Regions from separate parts of the Homo sapiens genome. Here region 1 is linked to region 2. Evidence: promoter capture Hi-C in human tissues and cell types (Jung and others, 2019). All regions are on one chromosome and are shown on one strand. The core of a region is centred on a gene start or on the middle of the fragment in contact, and the rest is flanking DNA. Distances in the headings are between cores, read along the strand shown. Region 1 overlaps ANAPC1 (anaphase promoting complex subunit 1). Region 2 holds the start of TMEM87B (transmembrane protein 87B).

Region 1 (6,769 bases), core at 1,263-3,762, 180 kb after region 2:
AACCTTGAAAACATTATGTTAAGTGAAATAAAATAGATATAAAAGGACAAATGTACAGTTTCACTTACATGAGATACCTAGCACAGGCCCTTTCATAGGGAAAGTGGAATAGAGGTTACCAGAGCTCAGGGCATTGGGAAATGGGGAGTATTGTTTAATGGGCACGGAGTTTCTGTTTGAGATGAGGAAAAAGTTCTGGAAATGTGCAGTATTGTACAAGCTCACAAATTGTACTAAGCTCGTCAATTTAATGTTAATGCTACTGAATTGTCTACTTAAAAATTGTTAAAATGTTAATTTTCATATTGTGTGTATTTGACCACAGTTTAAAAAAAAACACAAAATGCTGTTAAATAATAAGTGATTGCCAGGTATGTCAGTTAAAGTTTAATAGCTTTTCCTAGTTTATATTTTGTAAGATGGGCTTTTAAGAAAGGGAGGAGTTAGTTTTTCTAAAGACTTTTTCAAAAGTCAGTCTAGAGAGAGTCTAAGATCAGTTGTTTAATCTGGAGATTATAAAGTTTGAATAATCTTTAGTTTTGTAGAGGATATAGGGTTTAGTATGGTTTGAGCTACTATTTGAATTTTTGCTGCAAAGTTTCTATCTGGTAGATTTTTTGATTCTTGTCTTCTCTTTTTGTAAAATTTATTTTTTTAATTTAAAATTTTAATTCCTATGGATCTTTTCATAAAATTTAATTGTAAACATATTTTGCCTTTCCTTATCATATTTATCATTTATTACTCTAATTTATTTTTTCTTATTCTTTTTGTTCCCATGATTGTACATGTTGAGCTGAGGAGGCAAAGTTATTACGTAGATGCTATTATTATTATTTAGATGCCATTAGTTAATAGATGATTATTTAGATATAATTTTCTTAGGTAAGCATTTTGTTTTGATTTTAGGCATTGTGGTGTGACTTCATTATATCACAGGATAAGTCTGAAAAGGCCTACAGTAAGTTTCTTTTTGAAATTTTATTTTTCTTATGATGATTCCAAATATTTATCTCATTGTATTTTTCATTCAAATGAAGTAGCCACTAGTAATAGTGGTTTACCATAAGCATCTTTATATTGTGCATTAAATAATTTGTGCTGTTAGGATTGAACTCCTTTGAGGGAAAAAACACATAAGTCTTGTTGTACCCTTTCTTTTCAGGTAGCAATGAAGTAGAAAAATGCATATGTATATTGCAAAGCTCATGTATTAACATGCATAGCATAGAAGGAAAGGATTACATAGCTTCATTACCATTTCAGGTAAACAAGTGTTTCAAATTTTGGGGGGGTTTTGTTGGAGAACATTTTTGAATTAATTGGTTTTAGAGGCATGTCTTATGTCTCATGTTTCGTAGTAGTCAAAAATGTTATTTTTACTCAAAATAACTAAATTTTGGCAGCTTTAGTGGCTTACCATTTTTCTGTACTTCACAAGAAAATAAGTTATTTAGTGAAGTAAATTAGGAAGTCTTCTGTGGTATGTGTTTGTTGGTTTAAATGATACCTAAGAACTTTTGGTTATATTAAATAAGGCATATGAATAACACCAGTCTTTTTTTGTTACTCATCGTCTTTTTAATGCCTAGGGCTATTGTTAACACATTGTCATTTTGTTACTGATCCTGGCCAGTGGCAGGAATTTCACATTGAACAACTCCTCTTTATTAGATTTGATTTTATCTTAGAGTTGCTTATTTGTATTACTTTTTAAGAAAATACCGTATTTAATGATTATGTTACTTTGTAAAGCTATTACTAAATTGGAAAATAAAACATTCTGTAATGTTTCTTTAAAACATTTTATAAAGGGGTAGGTTCTCTTACTTCTATCTTTTCCCACCCTTTTACCTGAAAGGTTGCAAATGTTTGGCCCACTAAATATGGATTGCTGTTTGAACGAAGCGCTTCTTCACATGAAGTACCTCCAGGTTCACCCAGGTATTCATTTTATTCACTTCAGAATATTACTGCTTGGGATTTGTGTGTTTGTGTTGGTTCTGAGGTTTATCTAAAAGTTTGAGATGATGATAATTTTCATGTTGACAGCATAGATATATGCCATTTTCTCTCATCTCAGTACAAGTTGAGTATCCCTGATCCAAAAATCTGAAATTCTCCAAAATCTGCAACTTGTTGAGCTCCAGCATGACACTCAAAGGAAATGCTTATTGGAGCATTTCAGGTTTTGGATTCTCAAATTAGGGTTGCTGTCATCAAAAAGATATGTCATGATCAAGTGGGTTTTGTCTCAGGGATGCAGGGATGGTTTAACATACACAAGTCAATAAATGTGACACATCACATAAACAATTAAAAACCATATGATCATCTCAATAGATGCAGAAAAAAGCATTGGATAAAATTCAGCATCCCTTGATGATAAAAACAAACTAGGCATAGAAGGGACTTACCACAAATTAATAAAAGTCATATACAACAAACCCACAGCCAACATCATACTGAATGGGGAAAAGTTGAAAGCATTCCCCCTGAGAACTGGAAGAAGACTAAGATGCCTACTTTCACTATTTCTATTCAGCATAGTACTGGAAGTTCTGGCCAGAGCAATCAGGCAAGTGAAAGAAATAAAGGACATCCAGATTTGAAAAGAGGAAGTCATACTATCACTATTTGCTGATAATATGATTATATACCTAGAAAACCCTATAGACTCCTCCAAAAGACCCCTAGATTTGATAAATAAATTCAGTAAAGTCTCAGATTACAAAATCAATGTACACAGATCAATAGCACCGCTATACAGCAACAATGACAAAGCTGAAAATCAAATCAAGAACGCAGTCTCTTTTTTTTTGAGACGGGGTTTTGCTCTTGTTGCCCAGTCTGGAGTGCAGTGGCATGATCTCGGCTCACCACAACCTCTGCCTCCCAGGTTCAAGCGATTCTCCTGCTTCAGCCTCCTGAGTAACTGGGATTACAGGCATGCACCACCACGCCTGGCTAATTTTTTGTATTTTTAGTAGAGATGGGGTTTCTCCATGTTAGTCATGCTGGTCTCGAACTCCCGACCTCAGGTGATCCACCCACCTTGGCCTCCCAAAGTGCTGGGATTATAGGCATGAGCCACCGCACCTGGCCAAAAATTCAATCCCTTTTATAAGAGCAGCAAAGAGCCAAAAACAAAAACCTATGAATATGCTTAACCAAGGAGGTGAATCATCTCTATAAGGAGAACTACAAAACACTGCTGAAAGAAATCACAGATGACACAAACAAATGGTAACACATCCCATGATCATGGATTTGAAGAATCCATATTGTGAAAATGATCATCCTGCCAAAAGCAATCTATAGATTTCACCATAATTCTCATCAAAATAAGATCTTTTTTTTTATAGAGTTAGAAAAAACAATTCTAAAATTCATGTGGAACCAAAAGAGCCCAAAATAGCCAAAACAATCCTAAGCAAAAAGAACAAGTATGTAGCCATCACATATTCTACAAGGTTATAATTAGCAAAACAGCATGGTACTGGTATAAAAGTAGGCACATAGACCAATGGAACAGAATAGGGAAACCAGAAATAAAGCCAAATACTTGTAATCAAGTATTTGATCTTTGACAAACAAGCTTACAAAAACATAAATTGGGGGAAAGGCATCCTATTTAGTAAATGGTGCTGGGAAAACTGATACCTTTTTTAGAAGAATGAAATTGGGTTTTTTTTATCTCTCACCTTATACAAAAGTCAGTTCAAGAGGGATGAAAGGCTTTAAGCCCTGAAACCATAAAAATTCTAGAAGATCACCTTGGAAAAACTCTTCTGGACATTGGCCTAGGCAAGGAATTTATGACTAAAACACCAGAAGCAAATGCAACAAAAACAATAAATAAATGGGACCTAATTAAAATAAAAAGCTTCTGCACAGCAAAAGAAATGTCAGAATAGACAGATAGTTCACACAGTGGGAGAAAATATTTGCAAACTATGCATCCAACAAAGCACTAGTATCCAGAATATATAAGGAACTCAGATCAGCAAGACAGAAGCTCAAAAAGTGGGTAAAGGACATGAATAGACAGTTCTCAAAAGAAGATACACAAATGGCCAACAAACATGAAACTGCTCAATATCACTAATGATCAGAGAAACACAAATTAAAACCACAGTGAGATCTCACCTTACTCTTTAAGGAATGGCCATTATTAAAGAGTCAGAAAAACAATAGATGTTGGCATGGATGTGGTGGAAGGGGAATGCTTATACACTGCTGGTGGGAACATAATTAGTATGACATCTATGGAAAACAGTATGGAGATTCCTTAAAGAACTAAAAGTACGTCTACCATTCAATCTAGCAGTCCCATTACTGGGTATCTACCCAAAGGAAATAAAAGTCATTATGTGAAAAAGATACATGCACATGTATGTTTATTGCAACACAATTCACAATTGCAAAGATAAGGAAGCAGCCTAAGTGCCCATTGACCAATGAGTGAATAAAGAAAATGTATATATACACCATGGAATACTAATCAGCCATAACGAGGAAATGAAATAATGTCTTTTGCAGCAAGCTGGATGGAACTGGAGGCCATGATTCTAAGTGAAGTAACCCAGGAATGGAAAACCAAATACTGCATGTTCTCACTTCCAAGTGAGAGCTAAGCAAGGAGTATGCAGAGGCTATATACAGAGTGTTATGATGGACTTTGGAGACTCAGAAGGAGGAGGGTGGGAAGAAGGTGTGGGATAAACAAACTACATATTGCATACAACATACACTACACAGGTGACAGGTGCACTAAAATCTCAGAATTCACCACTACATAATTCTGTGTCACCAAAAGCCACTTGTACCCCCAAAAGAATTAGGGTTGCTCAACCGTTAGTGTAAGGTAAATAATCCAAAACACTTAGGGTCCCAAGTATTTCAGATAAGGGATACTCAGCCTGTATGTACACTCATGAACTCTACGCACTTGGCACTTAATTAGCCTTTTTTCCCAATCTAAGTGGTAAAATTGAATATGCAAATAAATGGCTTCAAAAAAGATTTGGCCGGGCGCGGTGGCCCACGTCTGTAATCCCAGCACTTTTGGGAGGCCGAGGCGAGTGGATCACCTGAGGTCAGGAGTTCGAGACCAGCCTGCCCAACGTGGCGAAACCCTGTCTCTACTAAAAATACAAAAAATTAGCCAAGCGTGGTGGCAGGTGCCTGTAATCCCAGCTACTCGGGAGGCTGAGGCAGGAGAATCACTTGAACCTGGGAGACGGAGGTTGCAGTGAGCCGAGATCACATCACTGCACTCCAGCTGGGCGATGAGCAAAACTCCGTGTCAAAAAAAAAATAAATAACAAGATTCAGTTCTTAGCTCTGCCATTTTCTCATTGTGCTGCTTTGAGCAGATCATTAGAGCTTTCTTAGCTATAGTTTCCTTACGCGTTACAGGAATGTTATCATTTACCTCTTAGGACTTATGCAAAGTTAAAGTAGCTAAATGTATATAAGCTTTGACACAGGGCCTAGTAGGTATTAAGTATGCAATAAATGGCAGATGTTTACTAGCGGCGTGTTTATCTTGCCCCCTATGAATTATGAGCACACCGAAGGGCAGCAGCATACAGCACCTGTCAGGCATGTTGTGGTGCAAGAGGTAGGCACTTGCTAAGTCTTAAAGAAATTGCTGATAGATTTTCATCTCTTTATGCTTTGAAAGAAAGCCCGTCTTCGCTCTAAAAAAAATAATTCCTTAAAAAATGTAGGCTTCTGGCCAGGTGTGGTGGCTCACGCCTGTAATCCCAGCACTCTGGGAGGCCGAGGCAGGTGGATCACCTGAGGTCAGGAGTTCAAGACCAGCCTGGCCAACATGGTGAAACCCCGTCTCTACTAAAAATACAAAAAAACTAGCTGGGCGTGGTGGCGTGTGCCTGTAATCCCAACTACTCGGGAGGTTGATACAGGAGAATCGCTTGAACGTGGGAGGTGGAGGTTGTAGTGAGCCGAGATGATGCCCCTGCACTCTAGCCTGGGCAACAGAGTGAGACTCCATCTCAGAAAAAAAAAGCAGACTTAATTTACTTGAAGTAGTTTGTTTCTTCCTTTTTTAAAAAATGCATTCCTTTGTCAGCAGATATGGGAGAATAAATTTCTTTCTTAGCTGCCAAAGACACACTGCCAGTAAGAGAGGTCAATAAAAAAAGACCGCTTTATGCACATTACTCCATTTGTTCTGTACTGTGATGACTGCTGTTTGCAGAAATTCCCTGGCTATATTGATTTCCCTCTGTTCGTGCATTGATAGAATTACTCTAAGGGGAGAGATTTCTAGGAATGAAATAGAAGACAATGTGAAAAATAGTATGTACAAAGTTTAGAAGATTGCATTTTGAGATAGTAGGTTTCTAGTTGCTCATGTAATCTGGAGATTTCTTTTCAATAGAAGTGCAAAATTTGTGCACAGACATACTCGTATTGGTAATTAATTGATTATTTGTTTATTGCTAGAGAACCTTTACCTACTATGTTCAGCATGCTGCACCCACTAGATGAAATAACTCCACTTGTTTGTAAATCTGGAAGTAAGTGTATTTCTATATTCTTTTAGATAAGCTCTTTTTTTTTTGACTTTGGTGAGGGAGGTTATAAAGGCGCTTATATGAAAACTGACTTATAAAAATAATGTAAACATTTTACAAAAATAACTTCTATTTTGACTTTCTTGAATATCATGGTATTAACTGCTCAACAGTTATTTTAGTAAAAATAAGGCATATAAATCAGTGAGGAATACCGATAT
Region 2 (6,119 bases), core at 1,201-3,700:
TATCCGTATTATTGTGTGAACGTCTTGGGAGAAGGGGCTGTGGCTAAAATTCATCTTTGCAACAGCAATGACCAGTCTAACATATGACACACAGTGGTGCTTCAACCATTTGCTCCCTTGTACACTCAAAAGAACCATTTCTTGGCCAGGTGTAGTGGCTCATGCCTGTAATCCCAATACTTTGGGAGGCTGAGGCAGGAGGATGGCTTGAGGCCAGCAGTTAAAGACCAGCCTTGACAATATAGTGAGACCCCTATCTCTACAAAAAAATTTAAAAATTAACTGGTGTGTGGCATGTACCTATAGTCTTCGCTACGCAGGAGACTGAGACTAGAGGATTGCTTGAGCCCAGGAGTTTGAGGCTGCAGTGAGCCATATGACTGTGCCACTGCACTCCAGCCTAGGTAACAGAACAAGACTCTGTCTCAAACAAACAAAAACAAAGAAACAAAATTTCCTGATAGATTTGCAGTACAAATGAAAGAAAGCCCCACTCTCCTTTCCTGTTTCTGACAACCTGAAATGTGGAAAATATAAGTCCACTCTTGGGAGAGAAGGGCTTTTAGACTTCTGGCGGCCCAGGGTCACACAGGAGTAAAATTAGCCTAAAGGTCATGCAGCACTCAAGGAGCAAACTTCTCTTCCTCATGCAGGAAGAAGTACACTTGGCAAAGATCTTTGCAGGTATGTTCACAGTACACTTAGCAAAGATCTATACAGATATGTTCAAGTAATCCAACAATATGCATGCAACTGATTCACTTCCAATATAGTTATATTGACTATTCACTATCGTAGCAGCAGGAAGCCATGAGAGTAGTTCACTGAGTTCTACTTTTTCCCGTTCAGGAAATTAAATAATGGAGATGTGCAGACTATAACTGGCACACAAATTAGGTCACCAACCCAGAAGAATCCAATCCTGGAGGAAATGGCTGCACTAGGTCTTAAAAGATCCAGAAAGATACCCAGCGTGTTCCTCTGAGTAGCTTTTGTGTTGTGGGAAGTATTTGTAGTCTTTGGAACTACTTTCTTTTTCTGGTTAAGGAAATCAAAATATAAGTCTCATCTTTAGAACCTGGACATTATTTCATGCATGTGGAAAATACCCATCCCAAACAGTGCTGGATGAGTCATCTGACCCCAGAGAAGCCGGAGATAATGCCTCTTCCAGACTTCCTGTCTCTCTTTTGCAAGACTTTCCATAATTCTGCCCCTGCATCTCTCCCACATCATCTCCTCTAATTACCAGACGCCAAGTTTTCTAATAGCCTGCCTTGGAAAGAAGAGTTTCCACCCACTCATGCCTCCAGATTCGCCTTTCAAGCACTCCCTAATCACAAGTCCCGCCCCACCTACACACACACTCTCTCTCCCGGAACTGTGACAGGAACTGTAGAGAAATTCAGGAACTCAAGAAGAGAGAAATAGAGGTAGGGTGACTACTGCACGTTTCCCCCTCATTTAAATTTTTTCTTTCTTTTTTTTTTTTAAGGAAGCGGCAGACCCGCTTTCTAAGTTTATGCAGAAACTGAAGCGCTGGCAAGTCCTCCCTGCGGCCTCAGGGGTGTGGCCCACTGTGGCTGCATCCGGACAGGAAGAGTCGAATCCCAAAGATGCTGCTAGATGTGCCGAGAGATTCCTGATCCAGCCAAAACATGTCAGAGCAGAATGAGGGCCACGGCGTCGGGCATGGTGACCCTCAGTAACAGTCCGAGCGCTCGGACCCGAGGGCCGTCCCATGCGCAATCCTGACGGCTCTTGCCTGCAGCCCAGGTCGGGCCGGAGGAGGGGCCGCTCCCCGCTCCCCGGCTGTAACAGACAAAAGGCTCAGGGAGGGTATCAGGGGACCCGGTGCTGACCCGGCAGAGGCAGGGTGAACAAGCCCGGGGTCAAGCGAAGCCGCACGACGGCCCTGACGGCCCGAGACGTGCCACGCCTGGGTCCCGACACTCCACTTACGTCGTTGACTGTCTCTAACCAGAGCCCGAGCTCAGGGACCGCGCGCACAGCCGCCGGGGTCCAGCACAGGAGGCAGAGGGCGACGCGCAGCAGCGGGGCCCGGGCGGGAAAGCAGCGGCGGCGGCGTGGCAGGAGCCCGGCTACCGAGCGGCAGGCGGCGACCATCTTGACCAGGAAGCTGCACCTGGCGCTCCGAGACGCCTGCCACACCCGCACCTGGTGCAGCACCGCCCCAGGCAGGCGGGTCCGAATCCGGGACGCGGGGCTCGGACTCGGGTGTGGAGGAGGGGCTCGCGCTTGGGCCTGGGCGGAGAGGCGCCGTGCAGTTCTGGGAAACCCGGCCAGGACCGGGAGGCAGGGCTTAGGGCTCTGAGCCGGGCCCGAGCGTGCAGCTGGGAGATGCCTGGAAGGCAGAGATAGGAGCCAGGATGTGGAGTTGGCGGCGAGACGTGGAGGCTGGGCTCAGGGCCTAGCGTGGGCGTGAAGATAGAAGAGGAGCCGGAACGTGCAAGGGAGGGCTGGCAGCCCGAGCGCGGAGGCGGGGCCGGGTAGGGAGGCGCCGCCGGAGTGTGGAGACGAGGCGGGGCTCGGGAGTGTGGGGGCGGGGTGGGAGGCGTGGCTCGGGGCCAAGCTGGGTGTGGGGACAGGGCAGGGTTGGAGGCGGGCTCGGGACTGTGGAGGCGGGGCGGGGCTCGGGACCAGGGCGGAGTGCGGAGGCAGGGTGCCCCAGGAAGGAAGAGCTTGGGGCCAGGCCGAGCGTGGAGGCGGGGCCGTGTGGAGGCGGGGCCGTGTGGAGGCGGGGCCGTGTGGAGGCGGGGCCGTGTGGAGGCGGGGCCGTGTGGAGGCGGGGCCGTGTGGAGGCGGGGCCGTGTGGAGGCGGGGCCGTGTGGAGGCGGGGCCGTGTGGAGGCGGGGCCGTGTGGAGGCGGGGCGGGGCTCGGGACCAGGCCGGAGTGCGGAGACAGAGTGCCCCAGGAAGGAAGAGCTTGGGGCCAGGCCGAGCGTGGAGGCGGGGCCGCGTGGAGGCGGGGCCGTGTGGTGGCGGGGCCGTGTGGAGGCGGGGCGGGGCTCGGGACCAGGCCGGAGTGCGGAGACAGAGTGCCCCAGGAAGGAAGAGCTTGGGGCCAGGCCGAGCGTGGAGGCGGGGCCGCGTGGAGGCGGGGCCGCGTGGAGGCGGGGCCGGGATTTGGAGGCAAGACCCGGCGGGGAGGCGGAGCCTGAGCGTAAAGGCGGGGCTGGTCAGGGAGATGGGGTCGGAGTGGGGAGGCGGAGTTGAGGACCAGGCAGTAGTGTGGAGACGGGGCTGGACGAGAAGGGCTTGGGGTTAGGCCGTAGTGGGGAGGCCAGGTTGGGCGAGGAAGCAGGGCTTGGAGCAAGCCCTAGTACGGAGACGGGACTGGGCGGGGAGGCGTGGCCTGAGTGAGGAGACGGGCCTGAGTGGGGAGGCGGGGCCTGAGTGGGGAGGCGGGGCCTGTCTGGGAGATGAGGCGCAGTGGGGAGGCGGGGCTCGCCGCCAGCGAGCGCGAGTGTCAAGGTCCTGGAGTCGAATGCCTAGTAAGTGCTACGGTTGGAGTGCAGTCTAGAGTTCTGTTCCCAGGGTGTCTCCATTTCTTGCGTCTTCTACACTTACCCCTGCCTCGACCCTCTCAGCTGTATGGAAACCGTTCTTTAAATTCAGGGAATGTGCCAGGAAAGTGCTTTGAGGCCAAGGCCAGTTGAACACAAGGCATTGTGTTGTGAAGGTTAACGTTAATAGGACAGTTAATACTTTTCAGAACAAGTAGTTACTTGACTGGCTTAAAGCTCAGAGGGGTCAGGGCTTGGATCCGTCTTATTGTGTACCTTCCCTTGCATTTTCGGCTGTAAGCTGAATACATGTTTTGCTGTCAAAGAGAATTAGTTCATTCATTATCAAATGTAAATAATATCCAGCAAGGGAATAGAATCCTGTGCTAATATTGTTATTAACGTAGAATAAGATCGATTTATAGTCCAAAGGCCTTGGCTGCTTTACCAGTCACCAGTAATTATTGAGGACCTACTATACACTAGAGATTGCATGTGCATCTTCCCAGTAAGCAACGTGATCAGTTCTGTTTAGGTCAGAATAACTGTAACAGGACCACAGGGGAACATCCACCAGAGATTTAGGAAGTAAGTGAGGGACAGAAGGAGAGAACAATACATGAAATTTAAGTTCTACAAGAAGAGTTAAGGGCGAGTTACCTGTGGGAGTGAGGGGTAAGTCTGAAATCGTTTTAGTTACGAGAGAACTGGAGGAATGGAAAGATCTTCCAGATGACTGGATGTTGGTGTGAGACGGAGAGTGGCAAAGCTGGGAATATTTAAACAGTACCAAAACATACAGGCATTCCTAAATTAAGTTAGGCAGATGGCACCTTTAGTTAAGAACACTGGAGAGGCAATGATTTTTTGTTTTGTTTTGTTTTTGAGACTGAGTCGCGCTCTGTCGCCCAGGCTGGAGTGCACTGGCGCGAACTCGGCTCACTGCAAGCTCCGCTTTCCTGGTTCACGCCATTCTCCTGCCTCAGCCTCCTGAGTAGCTGGGATTACAGGCGCCAGCCACCACGCCAGGCTAATTTTTTTATATTTTTTAGTAGAGACTGGGTTTCACCGTGTTAGCCAGGATGGTCTCGATCTCTTGACCTCATGATCCGCCTGCCTCGGCCTCCCAAAGTGCTGGGATTACAGGCGTGAGCCACCGCGCCCGGCCCCAATGATGGTTTTTAAGTAAGGATGAGCTGATCAGAAAGATCGTGTTGGTTGTCAAATTGGGAAACAGGAGCATAGGAGAGCCAGGGTGACACCATTTTAAAAATAACTCCATCTTAAAACTAGCAAGGTACATTTCTTGCCAGTCACCACCCATGGTCGTAAGATGTTTACAGTGGCTGGGCACGCCTGTAATCCCAGCACTTTGGGAGGTCAAGGCGGGTGGATAGTTTGAGCTCAGGAGTTTGAGACCAGCCTGGACAACATGGCGAAATCCTGTCTCTACACGAAATACAAAAATTAGCCAGGTGTGGTGGCGTGCCTGTGGTTCTGGCTACTCAAAGAAGCTGAGGCGGGAGGATCACTTGGGCCTGGGAGGCGAAAGTTGCAGTGAGCCCTGCACTCCAGCCTGTGTGACAGAGTCAGAACCTGTCACAAACAAAAAAAAGAAAGAAAGAGAAAGAAAGCAAGAAAAGGAAAAAAAAAAAAGGAAAATGAGGAAGGTTAGAATGAACTATAATGCTGGCTTGCAACTGATGATATCAGTGTGAACTCATTTTTAAAATTTAGTTTTATAAATAGATGTAGATATGTGTGTGTGTGTGTGTGTTTATATTTTCTTGCACTGATTCCCAGGAGGACCTAGAAGCAGCGACACCCCAGTAGCAATAGGTACATCTAGCACCAGATCTTGCTTTATAAATATCATTCTCCACTAAAATAAACCAGGGATCCTTGGAGAAGTGGCTGAGCCCAGGAATGGAATAGAGAAATTCATGATGAACTTGAGAATCTTGTTTTGCCAGAAAGTAAGGAAGTGGGTAAAAAATTATGAGGACACGTCAAAAAGGCATAGGAGCCAGTTTGAAGGAGCTCCCTTCCACTTACCAGATCTGGGACAATTTGGTCACCAAAATGATAGTAGTGGATTGTAACTCATTGACTCAAATAGGAATCCATGAGTCTATACTAACATAAATAAATAAATGATTACATAAATAGGAAAGAAAATCACTTTCTTACAGTTGGAAAACTAATAAATGCAGAAGGAATAACAAATTTAAAATATCACCATTTGGCAACTATCACAATTAAAATTGATTCAGAAAGAATCATCAATTCTATTCTAAAGTTAGTTGGCAAAAGCTTCATGAGGAAATATCTTCCAAAAATTACTTATTAATTACAAAGAGAAAAACAGTAATTATACAGTGGAGATACCTGGCAGACACCAACTTAATGATCAAGGTTAATCCCACAAGGATTGGGACAAACAGACATGATATGTATCATGATTTGATTAACTGAAAAGAAACAGCATGACTTCTGTGATATTCCTGCCAAAAATGCATGCCCAAAATGCAAAAATGCATCTAATCAAGCTATTCAAGGAAATGAGGAAAAAATTCACATACTTAAATCTAA

The links. Contacts are between HindIII fragments. The study calls those that stand out against the background at their distance.
Region 1: a fragment that was not itself captured here is called in contact with the fragment with the promoter of TMEM87B in region 2 in 1 of the 25 tissues and cell types used here (spleen).

The regions. Positions count from the first base shown.
Region 1 is chr2:111,867,805-111,874,573 of GRCh38, reverse strand. ANAPC1 (anaphase promoting complex subunit 1) reads left to right here. Exons shown (of 48, transcript NM_022662.4): 4 at 910-961; 5 at 1,166-1,266; 6 at 1,862-1,944; 7 at 6,478-6,551. Among named protein-coding and RNA genes, the nearest start is that of ANAPC1, 13 kb to the left of the region's middle. The HindIII fragment of the contact is 4,344 bases long and covers 341-4,684 here.
Region 2 is chr2:112,051,600-112,057,718 of GRCh38, reverse strand. TMEM87B (transmembrane protein 87B) reads right to left here and starts at 2,450. Exons shown (of 19, transcript NM_032824.3): 1 at 1,963-2,450. The coding sequence starts at 2,127. RefSeq lists enhancers at 1,309-1,648, 1,679-1,748 and silencers at 2,479-3,208, 3,409-3,458. The HindIII fragment of the contact is 9,449 bases long and covers 1-6,119 here.